Linked DNA regions of Homo sapiens: region 2 is linked to region 1. Evidence: promoter capture Hi-C in 16 types of primary human blood cells and fetal thymus (Javierre and others, 2016). All regions are on one chromosome and are shown on one strand. Each heading gives the region's core, a stretch centred on a gene start or on the middle of the fragment in contact. The rest is flanking DNA. Distances are from core to core; before and after follow the strand shown. Region 1 holds the start of RFX7 (regulatory factor X7). Region 2 holds the start of POLR2M (RNA polymerase II subunit M).

Region 1 (6,682 bases), core at 2,028-4,527:
GTTTGTGATATGCAAGCCCAGTAATTTAGAAACTATGATAAACCAAATGCAAAACCCATTTGATAATTTTTAAATGTCACATTTCTTTTGAGTGTAATTTTAAACTCTCATTAATAATGGCACCAAAGGATGATTCAGGAAGTAGTACAAAACTGATAGTCTCTCAGAATATTATCAGGTGATAAAATAATTTGTAAAATAATATTATTGTCTCAAAAATGTGAAATATCTAACTGCAATCATCTATTAAAAATGATTTAATACATATATACTATTTCTTAGGAATATATGGTAGTAAAGGAGTTTTCACTTTTGATATCTTTATTTTACATAGTCACTTGATGAATAATATAAATCCATTCTTGTGGAGCAGGGGGTATGACACTATTAAGTATATTTACTAATTTTGTTTATTATCTACAAATGTTGTTTATTCCGAAATTTTAAGTATATAAAAATCATTTTTGCAAATAGGATTTCTAAAGTTGATCATTAGATGCCAATAAGTGTATCATTACAATTTTAAAACAAAAATATAAATTTTCATATTTTGGGATTCACGTGTTTGCTGCCCATTATTTTTTCAGAGCAAGTACCAAAAACTGGAGTGCACTCTACTTCAGAAGTTTTTCTCATGTTAAAGTCAGAGCAGTTAGGCTGTAATGGATGTGCCAATATAAAAAAAAATTAAATTTACACATTATTTGCCAAAAAGTGCACTCGACTATCATCATTATTCAAACATTTCAGTCAGTTGCCTCCACAACTCACTTATTTTAAAACTATAAAGTGAAGATTCCTTTCCCCTCTTGTTCTCATAATCAATTAAAATATACATTACTCATTCAACTTTTAAAATTTGTCTCTCTTAAAAGATTTTAGTCCATTAACTTGGATTTCCCACATCTGAATGTAAAACCAAGGTGCTTAATTCAATTTAATGATGATTTCAGAAACACAAAGTTACGTCACGTTACTAGAGGTTAAAAACACACACACATACACACTGGTTTTGTGAAAACCTTGATGGCAAGCAAGATATTCACCATCTCTTCTTTTAAATTATAGCTTTAAAAAGGGGGTGAGGGTATCCATTGAAGAATAAAGCCTGCTTTCTGTCACACACACACACACACACCCCAATCATATCTATCAGACCTATTCAAGTTGCCACAACATGACTATTGTCAAAGCCAAAAAAATTCTCCTTTAAAATATTTAAACTTCATTTTAAAATTAAAACTGAAAGCAAGATACTCAACTGCCAACTACTGTTGATGAAACTATTAAAGCCTGCACTGACCTACTTCATATCAGCATCATGACGGCATGGATGCATGCCAAGAAAATAATGAAAATTACTATATAACTAACCTAAATCTTGTATTTAAAAATTGTCACTTTAAAAATGTGCAAATACTGTTCATGCAACGCCAGTTGCTTTACGATATGTTTTCAAAATGAGAAAATGAGTTTTGATATTTTAGTACTCATATTCAATGATGGCCCTGCAAAGATTTCATTTCCATTTTCAAAATCAAGGCTTTTTAAAATACCATATAAAATTCTTTTTAAACTTCTATTAAAAGCAATCTTAGACCAAATTCCAAATATTACTTTCCATTTAAAAAATATTGCTACACTTAAAAAAGGCAGTTAATGAAGCATCCTACAAAACAATGCAAGTTCATGTTCAAAGAATATTGCAATGGCTCTAACAGTGGATGGACTTAGTGTATTTAATTATTAAAAGATTCCCACTAGACTTTAGGAGTTTAATGCTGAAATATTGGAAATTTTCATACAAGAAAGTAAAATAGCGAAAGATATTCCATCAATGGTTTCTTTTAAAAAGACATACAAATGGCAAGACATTTGATTCCCTATATTTTAATTTAAAAAAAAACCACTTTGTTGTAAACTACCATCTTAAAATATTTTATACTAAAAAAGCACTTTCTTCACAATCAATGCAAAGAATAAACTCCCTGAAAAAGAAATTTAATATTAGGATAAGGGAGGCAAAAACATTCAGAAATAGCAGCTAACCCAACTGAAAGGAAGAGACACATTAGGTTTTGTGCTGCATATTAATATTCTTACGCACAGTATCTGTTTGGTGAAAATTCACAATACACTTCTTCCTCCTTCTATGGCTGCAAAAAGGAGTAAACACATTTCACATTCTCCAGTTCCAAATTCATGCCACCATCATGCAATATGACTTAATTTCGACCCATATTTCTGTTACAATGAGTGAAAAAATAAAACCAAAAAACTTGTTTATCTGCACTCACAATTGAGGAAGGGGTAAAAGCATTTTTTAGCTAAGAAGACAGGGGCTGATTGATGCAAAGTCCGCACACCTCCAGAGATCCTACAAATGTGCACCCGACTGGGGAAAGCCACATTCAATGAATGCATCAGCCTCCTCCTCCGCTCCCCCCGCCCGCCGCCCCCCACCCACTTTGCAGCAGAAATGTGCCTGGGCTTTTTCACGCGAGCGATGGAGGATCCTCTTACCAGATGGAGTTCTTGATCTTGTGTTGCAGCGCGCTGGCCTCTGTCCCTGGCAGCCCGGGCACAAGGGCTGGCAGGGCCACCCCCGAGTTGGGGGCGCTGGGGGGAAGCTGCTGATGGGCATCAGGCTGCTGTGGTGGCGGCTGTTGTTGTTCCTCTGCCATCGCTGCAGAGGGGTGGGAGGGAGGGAGGGAAAGATGGGGGCGCGGGGAAGGGTGAGGGAAGAGACCGGGAGGGGAGGACGAAGGGGGGAGAGGAGGAGGGGGAGGGGGAGGGGAAGAGGAGGAGGAGGAGGAAGGAAGCTGGATAAGCTAGGCCTTTACCCCAGGGCTCGAGTGAGTCGCTTTCGCCTGCCGCCTGGGGAACATCACCGGGGAGACCAGCGGCTCCTCACGGCCGGGGCGCTTCACCGCGGGAGAGGCATGGCGGCGCCCCTCAGCCCCCCGCTGGCGCCGCCGCCTCCTCCCGTCAGCGGCCGGGGCTGTGGGGGGGTGAGATGGGGGCGTTTGAAGACGAAGTGGGGGGGGCAGGCTCCCCCCAAAATCCAAGAAGAACGGTTGCTCAGGGATTTGGCGGCCAAGCCTTCCTTCCTTGTCCCCGGGGCTTTCTACTGCCGGGTCCCCGTGCTGCTGCAGCCCCAGGCACCGCTCCACGCCACTCCCCACGCCGCCGCCGCCGCCGCCGCTCGCTCCCGGCCCCGCCGCCGCCGCGGCCGCCGCTGCCCTGCCAGCCCCGGAGGCAGCCCAGTGCGCGCAGCCGCACTGCGGCCCGGCGCAGACCGCACAACACCTACCGCTCCGCCGGGGGGCGTGGACCAGGGTGTGCGGGCCGCGGGCGCGACGGGCCGGGATGGGGGCGCACGGCGCGGAGGGCGGCGCGGGCCAGCGGGCCAGGGAAGCGCGCCGCTGGGGGCCGGGAGGAGTCCGGCCCGGCTGGTGGAGAGCAGGAAAACGTGGGGGAGGTGCTGGCGAGAGAAAGAGAACTTGCGTGAGGAGGAGGAGGAGAAACCAAATTTAATAATATTTGGCGTGGAAATGGGATTTGGGCGGGGGAGGCATCTTCAAAGCAAGTAAAGAGAAATCAACATTATCCCCCTTCCCCTGCACATGCATGTGAGGATTACTTCCTCCCTGAGTAAATGAAGAGAACTGAAGCAGGTAAGACGATAAACTGACTTTTCAGAAGCCCCCAAAGAAGAACACCCGTTGGAATTAACCACCCTTTAGGTAATTCGGTCTTGAACGGAAATCGCGAGTCAGGAGCTGGGTTGAGTGCTCCTCGGTCGGGCATTCAAAGCCCTCCAAATCTGGCCCCACTTTAACTATCCAATCATAGCGGCCTCCATCCCCCTGCAAGAACTCCCGGCTCCAATCAGGGAAGTCTCCATGCCATCCTCAACGCGCAGCAGATTCATTCTTCCTTCGTGCCTTTGCTCATGCTGTTCCCCTCCACCTCCCCACCCCACCCCACCCCCTTTCCAGGAATGCCCTCCCTCCTTTATACCGCTCCCAATTCCACCCAGGCTCTAAAGCATAGCTCAAGTCGCGGCTTGTCAGGGTCCCTGCAGCCAAGGCCACTGCCTGCCTCTGAAAGAAACGCATGTAGTACTCACAACATGGAGGCTCAGGCGTCAGCCACGAGCTCCTTCCTTTGGAGCCCGTTGAACACCCGCCCTCCCCCCGCAGACTCCGCACCATTCCCCCCCTTCCCATTCATACCTAAATGATAGCTTTGCCACAAATAAGTCAGTCTCCTTTAAGAGCAGAAGAATTGGCTTTTCTAGGTGGGGCTGATCAGGGAGGCTGCGTGGATGTAGAATACAACAGCCAAGGCCTCTGGCACCAAATGGAACAGCTGTTCAGCTCACACTGACCTTTCTTTGGGCCCGTGGGTGTTATGAGCCCTTCAGCTTTAACTTTTCTGATAGAGTGTCTATCAGGTTTCTACCTGTTAGATCCTCTGGCCACTTTCCTGCTGTGTGTGGACTTTGGGCTGTGGGGCTCTGCCACCTTTTAGACTCCTAGTGGATGGTGAATCTGATTGGCTTGGGTTGCCTGGCCTTTGAGTTCTCAGTTCCCTGCCTTGGCCTGAAACCCTCTTGCTTTTGTCCACTGTGCCCTCTCTCCTGGCCCACAGACTTAAGGCCCAGACTCACACTGAATGCTTGCACGTGGTGAGGGTTGAGGGTGGGGGTGCAGGGAGGAAGAACACCTGTGTGCAAAATAAGCCGCCCCCCCGCCCCCGGGGCCTCTTGGATTACGCTGTGCTCCAACTACCCATTGCACGAGTTGCATCACACAAATGAGCCCCCTTTTCCATACTCTAAGGTCTCTATTAGCTTAGCCACTTTAGGAAACTATAGGTGGTTTACGACATTCATTTTGCATACATATCTTCATGTGGGTGTGTAAAGACAGTATTTTTGTGGACCTAATTGATAGACATGGTGTGCACTAGACAGAAGCTTTGAAGGATAAAAATAGCTAATGTTTGTTGAACACTTTGTGTGCCAGACTAGCACTTTCCATACATTATCATAGTTATTCCTCCCCAAGAGTGTATAATGTAGGTATTATTAGTCTCCCTCTGTTACAGATGAAATGGAAGCTTAGGTTAATTAACATTCTTAAAATTACCCAATTAGTAAATGCAGGAGCCAAAATTTGAGTCCTGGAAGTTTAATTCCAGAGCCTGCAAGCTATGCTGAAACTGGAATTACGCTGAAAAATCTTGAATGTAGGTATATATATACGTGTGTGTGTGTATGCCCTATATCACGTTGAGGAAAGTTGCCAAGTTCCCCAAGGTTCTAATTTTTTGCCTTGCCAAGAGAGAATGATGGCTCCAAGTTGCAACACCCTGGGAGGGGGAGATCCTTAGGAAGTGGGAGAGTCATCGAGGGGGTAACGTATCTAAGGTCTGCCAAAGGCCTTAAGAAAAGGAAGCCGAGAACCAAGACGTTTTATAAAAAGTTCGCTACCGGGTGTCACACAGGCTGGCTTCCCAAGTGCAACTTCTGAGAGTTTTTAATGGGTTCCATAAAAGAGCCAGGTCACCCCAGCAGCCACTAGAGGGCTCACGAAGCTGCAGCCGCGGGCTGCCCTCTAGCGGCGGTGCTGACCGGAGTGTGGTGGTAAACCTTTTCCGGCCTTCCAGGACCTACAGGGAGTTGAAGGAGACCAGCAATGGGAGGGGTGGCAGAGAGTATCAGACTGAGGAGACCTTATTGCCAGAGTGAGATACCCTTTCAGGGAGGAAAGGGGCAGCCCTCACTACTCACTTAACATCTGGGAGTACAGTGGGTGTTTTGTTCCAGTCTTCAGAGAAGACTGTGAATAAAATCATGACATTAAGAAATCTGATGAAGTTACCCAAAATTTTGAGTGTGGACTCAAGCCAAACCCAGGGACCCTGAATAAAGGCAGGAGTGTAGCCATGTGCTTCTCATATTATGTGGGTTCCTTTGATTGTGCAACCCTGTACTGAGGACCCTCAAGGACCCAGAATCAATGTGGCTCATTTTCTCTGAGCATCATTTTGACTCTCTGGTAAATAAGGTAAGACATTGTAGTAAGCATGACTTTTTAAGATAACACACAAGTATTACCCAACCCTGAGGAGCCTAAGTTTATTCTCTACTGGGAAAGTGTACACCAGAGGAAAATTTTGAGGAACACTGATGTAGTGGGTTAGAAAAACCTGGCCTTGGAGTCAGAAGACCTGGGAATTCAAACCCTCTGTTTCGATCTCTATAAAAATGAAAATAATGATGTACATCAGAGGGTTGCTATAAGGAAAACATGAAAAGTTATAGGTAAACCAGGGAAGTGTTGTCCACATTTAGAGAGTATCTACAAGATGGATTGTCAGCACCTCAAAGGAAATGACTATTTTATTTATCCTAGTAGTCCCAGGACATAATTCCTGACTCCTGACTATTTAATAAATATTTGTGGAATTTAGTAGTTAACTAACCCTCATTTTCCTAGCCCAATCCATTATATTGTCTTGCTCTCTTGTGTCTGTAAACCTTGTCTCCTTTATGAAACTGTAAACATTTTATACTGTCCAGACTGTAGTATATACATTTATCATGCCTGATATATAGCAGTATTGGGCACGGAAAATATGAATAAATAAGACCTGGCCCCAACTTGAAGTA
Region 2 (6,682 bases), core at 2,847-5,346, 1.5 Mb after region 1:
AGTCTTATACAGAGAAAACTTATTTTGATATATTAATGAATCTGATCAGAATGGACCAGATTGGGGGGATAGATAAATGGTTGCAATTGTGCTCCCTGGAATAGCTTTGGAGTTTACCTAGATCTTCTGTCTCTTTAGGACAGAGCTGCTTGTGTTTATATAGCATCTTACACAGGATTGAGACAACTTCAATTTCCTATATCAAAAAATCGGGGGAGGGCGGTGGGTTATGGGGGTGTTCAAACCTCCCAAGTGACATCTGCTGTGACTGCATGTCTTCCTACTCTTTCCACTGGGATGCACCTCTGGTAGCTGAACTATAACGAGAAGGTAAAAGCTGTGTCCAATACCTATTAAGCTGCCTTCTTCTCAACAGCTGGGGAGGTGGCGGGGGTGGGGGGGGGCGGAGGGAAGTCTTTTCAACAGTTTTACACATTTGGAAATAGGCCTAAAGTGAAGAAGGGGATTTTCAAATTGGTGTGTTGGAAAAGGGGCTGGGCTTTTGAGTTTGAAATCTGGTGCTGTCACTTACTGGTTTTGTGCCCTGGGAATATTTATTTCAGTTTTCATGCCTCTGTTTTTCTATAGGCAAAGTAGAAAATTCGAAAAGGTCCTCAACGAGTTTGTACAGCTGCTCCCACTCCCTCATCACCTCTTGTGGGCCTTTGGAAATGTATGTTGGAGGAGACATTTTGGATTGTTGCAATGACTTGGGAGTGCCATAGCACCTAGCAGGCAGAAGCCAGAAACACCAAATGTCTTAACAATGCTTGAGGCGGTGCTACAAATGAAGTCCTTCTCCAAATGCATTGAGCCCCAAGAAAAATCGCTGATTCTGAGGAACCTTCCAACTTTAACAATTTCAGGACGTCCCTAAGCTGAGCTAGGAGGCACCACGCACAGGCCGGAGGCACCACGCACAGGCCAGAGTCTCCCAAATCCTGTCCCGCACTCTCTCCCACCTTATTAATGGCCAGCTCATCTTTCAAGTTTCGACTTGAACCACTTCTCAGAGATATCTTCCCAGGTGCCCATCCCAACGTTACTATTATATCATAATTTGATTCTCCCTCCCCCCATCCCCCCGCCAACTCTGTAAACCCCAAGTATAACACAGGACGTTGCTATTTGTTGACTGACACATAGTGCTTGGTGAGGTCACGCTGGCGCTGAATACTTTTTGTATAAACCGACGAACAGCTGATGACCGCATGAATGCTCACACAAGGGGAAAGGGCGCCAAGCCAAGGAGCCGGCGTCATCCGACGTAACTTCCGCCCTTTAACGCTCCTGCGGACGCCCCCTTCTCCCAGTCCGTGTTTGTTTCCGGAATTTCAATAAAGCTCGATTCGGCTCGAAGAAGACCCCGTTCTTCCGGGAAAATGGCGACTCCCGCTCGTGCCCCGGAGTCACCGCCGTCCGCGGATCCGGCGCTAGTAGCGGGGCCTGCCGAGGAAGCCGAGTGCCCGCCGCCGCGCCAGCCTCAGCCCGCGCAGAATGTGCTCGCTGCCCCGCGGCTTCGAGCCCCAAGCTCCCGAGGACTTGGCGCAGCGGAGTTTGGTGGAGCTGCGGGAAATGTTGAAGCGCCAGGAGAGACTTTTGCGCAACGAGTAAGCTGGGGTCCCGCGGAGTCTCCGCCAGGCTCCTTCAGCTCGAGCTCCCTGGGCGCTCCCCTCCCCTCCCGCACTCTGTTCCCTTCCCTGGAAGGTGACTTTGACTCAGTCACATTCGCTTCAGTCCTACGGGCGAGTGGACGGAGGGCTTGCTGCGGCAGAGCCGTGCCTCTTCCTGGCCAGGCACGTATGCCTGCGAGGATAGCTCGGATTGAACGGCTACCTGGCGTTGCAGGGAGTTAGTAGCCCCTGGTCGGTTTTATTTACCCGGGGACTGTGGTGGTTCCATGAGTCTGCTTTCTAAACCCTTTTGTCGCCCGCACCCCTAACCCATAACAGATTGTCAGCTTCATCTCTGGATTCTAAGCTTACAGGAACCGTAGGAAATGGGAAGAGTGGGATATGAAGAGGGGTTTATTAGGCCGGGAAAGTTCGACCCTCATTCAGCTGGCTGGTTGAACGGATTTTAGCAAGGGAGCCACGTAATAAAAGTGATTTTGTTTTTTAGGCAGCTTTGTTCAGCAGCTTGTTGCAAAAGATGGTTTGAAGGAATAAAAAGCAGAAGACAGTAGAAGGATATTTTCAGAGAGACTTCCCACGAGACACTTGTAAGAAAGTGAGCTAGGAAGGGATTGGGAGAACTTTTAAGCATGGACTAATTTAAATGCAGTTGACAGAGATGGCTGAAGTTTCCAATCTATATGGAAGACCACTAGCAAAAATAGGAAAATTCAGGGAGAGGAATAGATCCAAGGTTGATTTTACTTAGGGTGTGCAGAGTTGAGAGGAGAGCAGGACAGACATTTGGTTAATCGAAAACCAAACACTTAAAAGCTGGAGAAGTAGTCATGAGGCTCAAGAAAGAGAGAACCCTGGAAAAATACAGAAAACAGGAATTTCAGCTGTAGAGTGTTGTTAATAGTTGAAATTGTGGGGATGAATGTAGTGTCAAAAAGAACAGAGGACTTAAGGTGTAATTTTTTCTTTCCATTTATTGTATAGTTAAAGAAAAGGGAATCAGAAAAGGAACTCTGTCATCCAGCAAAAGGGACAAATAAATAATTGGTTGGGATCAAGACATGTGTTTTGACCTTGTGAGAATAGGTTTTGAATGTATAGCAGTGAATTAACTTTTTGGTCTCAGGACTCCGTTATACTTTAAGAATTATTGACATCCCAAAGAGCTATTTTATGTGTTGTATCTAGCGAAATGTATTTACTTATCAGAAATACGTCTGAAGTCTTTAAAACATAAGCATACACAAGCACACATTCTATTCTAGAACAATGATGTCATCACATGCCATGTAGCCTCTGGAAAACTCCACTGTACCCATGCGAGAAAATGAGAGGGAAATAATATCTTAGTATTATTATGAAAGTAGTTTTGACCTAATAGGCCCATCCCCACACTCCACCCCATCCCCAAATTTTGGAGATTGCACTTTAATGACTGCTGGTTCTTGGAATGTCTTATGTGATTATTATATGCTTAAAATACTTTTGCTGAAATTCTAATTTGCTGAGACAAATGAGGCATATATTCCCTATTCTTCCTGCATTCCCTTGTTTTTTGGGCTATTTGGATAATGACCATTTTAATTGTTTTATTCTTGTTTTGGGGCAGTTAGAAATCAGATATTTGACTTAAAAATCAGCTTTTCTTTCTTTGAAGATAATGCCTTGCCTTTTTAATGTTATATCTCAAGTTAAAAAAATGGCTGTAATGTAATAGTATTCTTTTCCATTTGACAGAAAATTCATTTGCAAATTGCCCGACAAAGGTAAAAAGATCTTTGACTCTTTTGCCAAACTGAAAGCTGCCATTGCAGAATGTGAAGAAGTTAGAAGAAAAAGTGAACTGTTTAACCCTGTTAGTTTAGACTGTAAGCTAAGGCAAAAAGCAATTGCAGAAGTTGATGTGGGTACAGATAAGGCCCAGAATTCTGACCCGATACTTGATACTTCATCACTAGTTCCTGGATGTTCCTCTGTAGATAACATCAAGTCATCTCAAACCTCACAAAACCAGGGACTTGGACGTCCTACTCTTGAAGGTGATGAAGAGACTTCAGAGGTTGAGTACACAGTGAATAAGGGCCCAGCTTCCAGCAATAGAGACAGGGTACCACCTTCATCTGAAGCTAGTGAGCATCACCCGCGGCATCGTGTTTCAAGTCAAGCGGAAGATACTTCCAGCAGCTTTGACAACCTGTTTATTGACAGGTTACAGAGGATCACCATTGCGGACCAAGGTGAACAACAGTCAGAAGAAAACGCAAGTACTAAGAACTTGACAGGCCTTTCCAGTGGGACTGAGAAGAAACCTCATTACATGGAAGTGCTAGAAATGCGAGCCAAAAACCCAGTGCCCCAGCTGCGTAAATTTAAAACCAATGTGTAAGTACCCTCGGAAACAGGCCTGTAACAGGAACGTGATATTTGTTAAACTCAAAAATTTACGAGAAACTGGGTGTGGTGGTGCTTGCCTGTAGTCCCAGGCTACTCAGGAGGCTGAGGTGGGAAGACAGCTTTGAGTCCAGGAGTTGTAGACCAGCTTGGGCAATATAATAAGACCTTTTCTCTTAAATAAGTCAGGAGAATGCTCTAAGTTCCGTGGGCTTTGTATGAGAACTACTTGTAGTTAGGAAATAACATGTTGTGGCAACACTGAGACCAGCCTGGCCGGAGTAGAAGATTCATGTTGAAAAATATTTAGTTTTGAAACCAAATAATCGACAAGGTCTTTTAAAGCACATGGGGGAGTGTTAAATTTTAGGATGCTTAGCCAGTATTTCATAATAAACACAGAGTTGGAGAGAATTTATTATGACTTCTTTTTTTCAGAACCATTTTTTAGTGTACAGCTTTGATTAGTGTACTATCAAAGTGTACTCTCTTTGATTAGTCTGTGAACTAAGGGTAAAGCAATTGCAGGAGCTGATGGGCTTTCCAGCAGAAATTATTTGCATGCTCACTGTATGTAAGCAAGCAGCAGGTGTTGTGGGGACACAATTAAGTCAAGATTCTTAAAACTCCTTTGCCTTTTTTGATGTTAAATCTCAAGTTTAAAAACATGGCTGTAATGTATACATGTGTAATGTAATACAATACCATGTTCTTCAAGGAGTTTAAGAGCTACATGAGGACCCAAGGTTTACACACTTGGAAAAGAGTTAAGCTACATAATAATAACAGTTTCAGGGGGAAGGAAGCTGAGAAGAGGTTTGAAAAACTGTGAAAATAGATTCAGGCAGGATAGGCAAAAACTCTGCTTATCAGTTCCTTGCCATAAATTTGTTTCTGAAATTTCAGGAAAAGTAAAATCTTTTTGAAAATAATTGCTATTTACTTGCAGCAAATGTAACATTCAACTCAGGTAACTGGTACCTTCTTCCTATATTGTATTTACAAGTATGTAACATCAAAGTTAAATCACTACTACCTTTCTTTGAAAAACAGAAAACCTCTAGTGAAAAGTATCTAAAACATGCTTCTTTTTTGTTAGACTTTAATTCTACCCCAGCATTCATTTTAACCTCAAAACATTTTATTTCTGCTGTATAGAAAATCAGGATTATACTACATTAACGTGATCAAGTACTCTCTTGTGTACAGTGGGGTATCTTTCTTCACTTCCAGGATGACATTTTAGAAAACTAGAACCATCATCTAGTCAATAAATAAAACAAAGAATACATTAATCCCAGTTCTGTATTATGGTCATTTAGCTGGGAGTGGGAGAGAGGTAAGGGAATAGTGAAGAGGGCTACCAAGAATTCAGGAAGTTTAAGAGACAGGGAGCCTCCTGTATAAGTTAGAGGAGAACAGGAAAGGCAGGGCTTTGAGGAGTCCTTAGGCCATAGACAGGTAGGGATTGAGAGGGTTCCGTGTGAGAGGTGGCTTGGAGGTTGGAAGGTGGGGTCAGGTAGTGTCCTTTGGGTCCTTTCTGCTCTTCCTTCTGCATACTCTTCTGGCTTCATGTATCACCTGGATGCTGGAGGCTGACCCCTGTGCACCTCTATCCCAGATCTTCCCAGAACTTTAGGTTTGCATAGCCAATTAACCATGAAACTTGATCACTTGGGTGTTCCCAGGTACCTCAGCTTAATGATGTACAAAGTGGAACTGCAGTTTCTTTCCAAGGTGATTTCCATATTCCCTAATAGTGCCACCACCTTCTCGGTTTTCTTCCCCTAAGGTATCTTCGATTTTTCTCATCTCCATATCTGCTAGCCATGAAGACCTACTTATTTCTTTGATCTTCATCTCTATAATTGTTCTTCATCTTCTGTCGAAGTGAAGACTCTCATCTCTCTCGGGCTGTAATTGTGGCCCCTTCTACCTCTAGTCTTAACTACCAGTCTATCTCCACTGCTGCCAGAGTGAAATTTGTAAGATGGAAATCCGAACTTGTTACGGAGAACTCTTCATTGCAGTCTGGGCCTAGGCTACTTCCCAGCCCTCTTTCTCGCTGTCTTTTCTGTGTAGCCAGAAAAGCTGAGTCTGTCTACCTTCTGTACTTTCTCTCACTCCCCTTGCTGGGATGCACTTCTCTCCTTATTTACATGGGTAAGCAGTTATTATTCCAAGACTGTTCAAAGCTTTTTTGAAACTTTTCTTAGCCTCCCTGTCTCCCACTAGAACTGGCCATTTCCTTATGTTCCAATGTATCTTGTTGAGATATCTATCACAGTATCTCTGGTATTGTATTGCACTGAAACTTTACATGTGTATTTCTTTCTACTGGGCAATAAGCCCTTTTGCAAATGTTCTTTGAATAAATGAAAAAAAAAAAAAAAACTCCAGATGAAATACAAGGTTTGAATAAGGAAGGAAAAGGCAAAGAGCCTGTATGCACACAAACACACCCCTATTTGTTAGAGCAATGAATACTGGTAAATTACTTACTGTTACCTTTGGAGGAGAATTAATTGCTAAGGTAAAGGCCATTTGTGTGAATGTTTTAAATGTGTCTACAAATAAAATAATCTGATTGTATAACACAAGTTTTCCTTTCATCAGGTTACCTTTTCGACAAAATGATTCATCTAGTCATTGCCAGAAGA

The links. Contacts are between HindIII fragments. The CHiCAGO score rates a contact against its expected background, and 5 or more counts as called.
Region 2: a fragment that was not itself captured here is called in contact with the fragment with the promoter of RFX7 in region 1 in 1 of 17 cell types (total B cells); the score reaches 5.4 in total B cells.

What each region holds. Positions count from the first base shown.
Region 1 is chr15:56,240,602-56,247,283 of GRCh38, forward strand. RFX7 (regulatory factor X7) reads right to left here and starts at 3,278. Exons shown (of 10, transcript NM_022841.7): 1 at 2,844-3,278; 2 at 2,524-2,686. The coding sequence starts at 2,684. It overlaps LOC124903569 (laforin-like), which reads right to left and starts at 4,217. Exons shown (of 3, transcript XM_047433428.1): 1 at 4,133-4,217; 2 at 3,382-3,578; 3 at 2,750-3,281. The coding sequence starts at 4,217. The coding sequence ends at 2,832. It also overlaps a transcript of TEX9 not described here. RefSeq lists silencers at 2,804-2,873, 2,964-3,023, 3,174-3,463, 3,954-4,003 and enhancers at 3,250-3,895, 3,896-4,541, 4,254-4,303, 4,542-5,187. The HindIII fragment of the contact is 5,292 bases long and covers 1-4,982 here.
Region 2 is chr15:57,705,346-57,712,027 of GRCh38, forward strand. GCOM1 (GCOM1, MYZAP-POLR2M combined locus) reads left to right here. Exons shown (of 17, transcript NR_104371.3): 14 at 589-1,027; 15 at 3,369-4,013; 16 at 6,639-6,682. It overlaps POLR2M (RNA polymerase II subunit M), which reads left to right and starts at 1,369. Exons shown (of 4, transcript NM_015532.5): 1 at 1,369-1,610; 2 at 3,369-4,013; 3 at 6,639-6,682. The coding sequence starts at 1,498. RefSeq lists an enhancer at 1,264-1,483 and a silencer at 1,804-1,853. The HindIII fragment of the contact is 4,237 bases long and covers 1,979-6,215 here.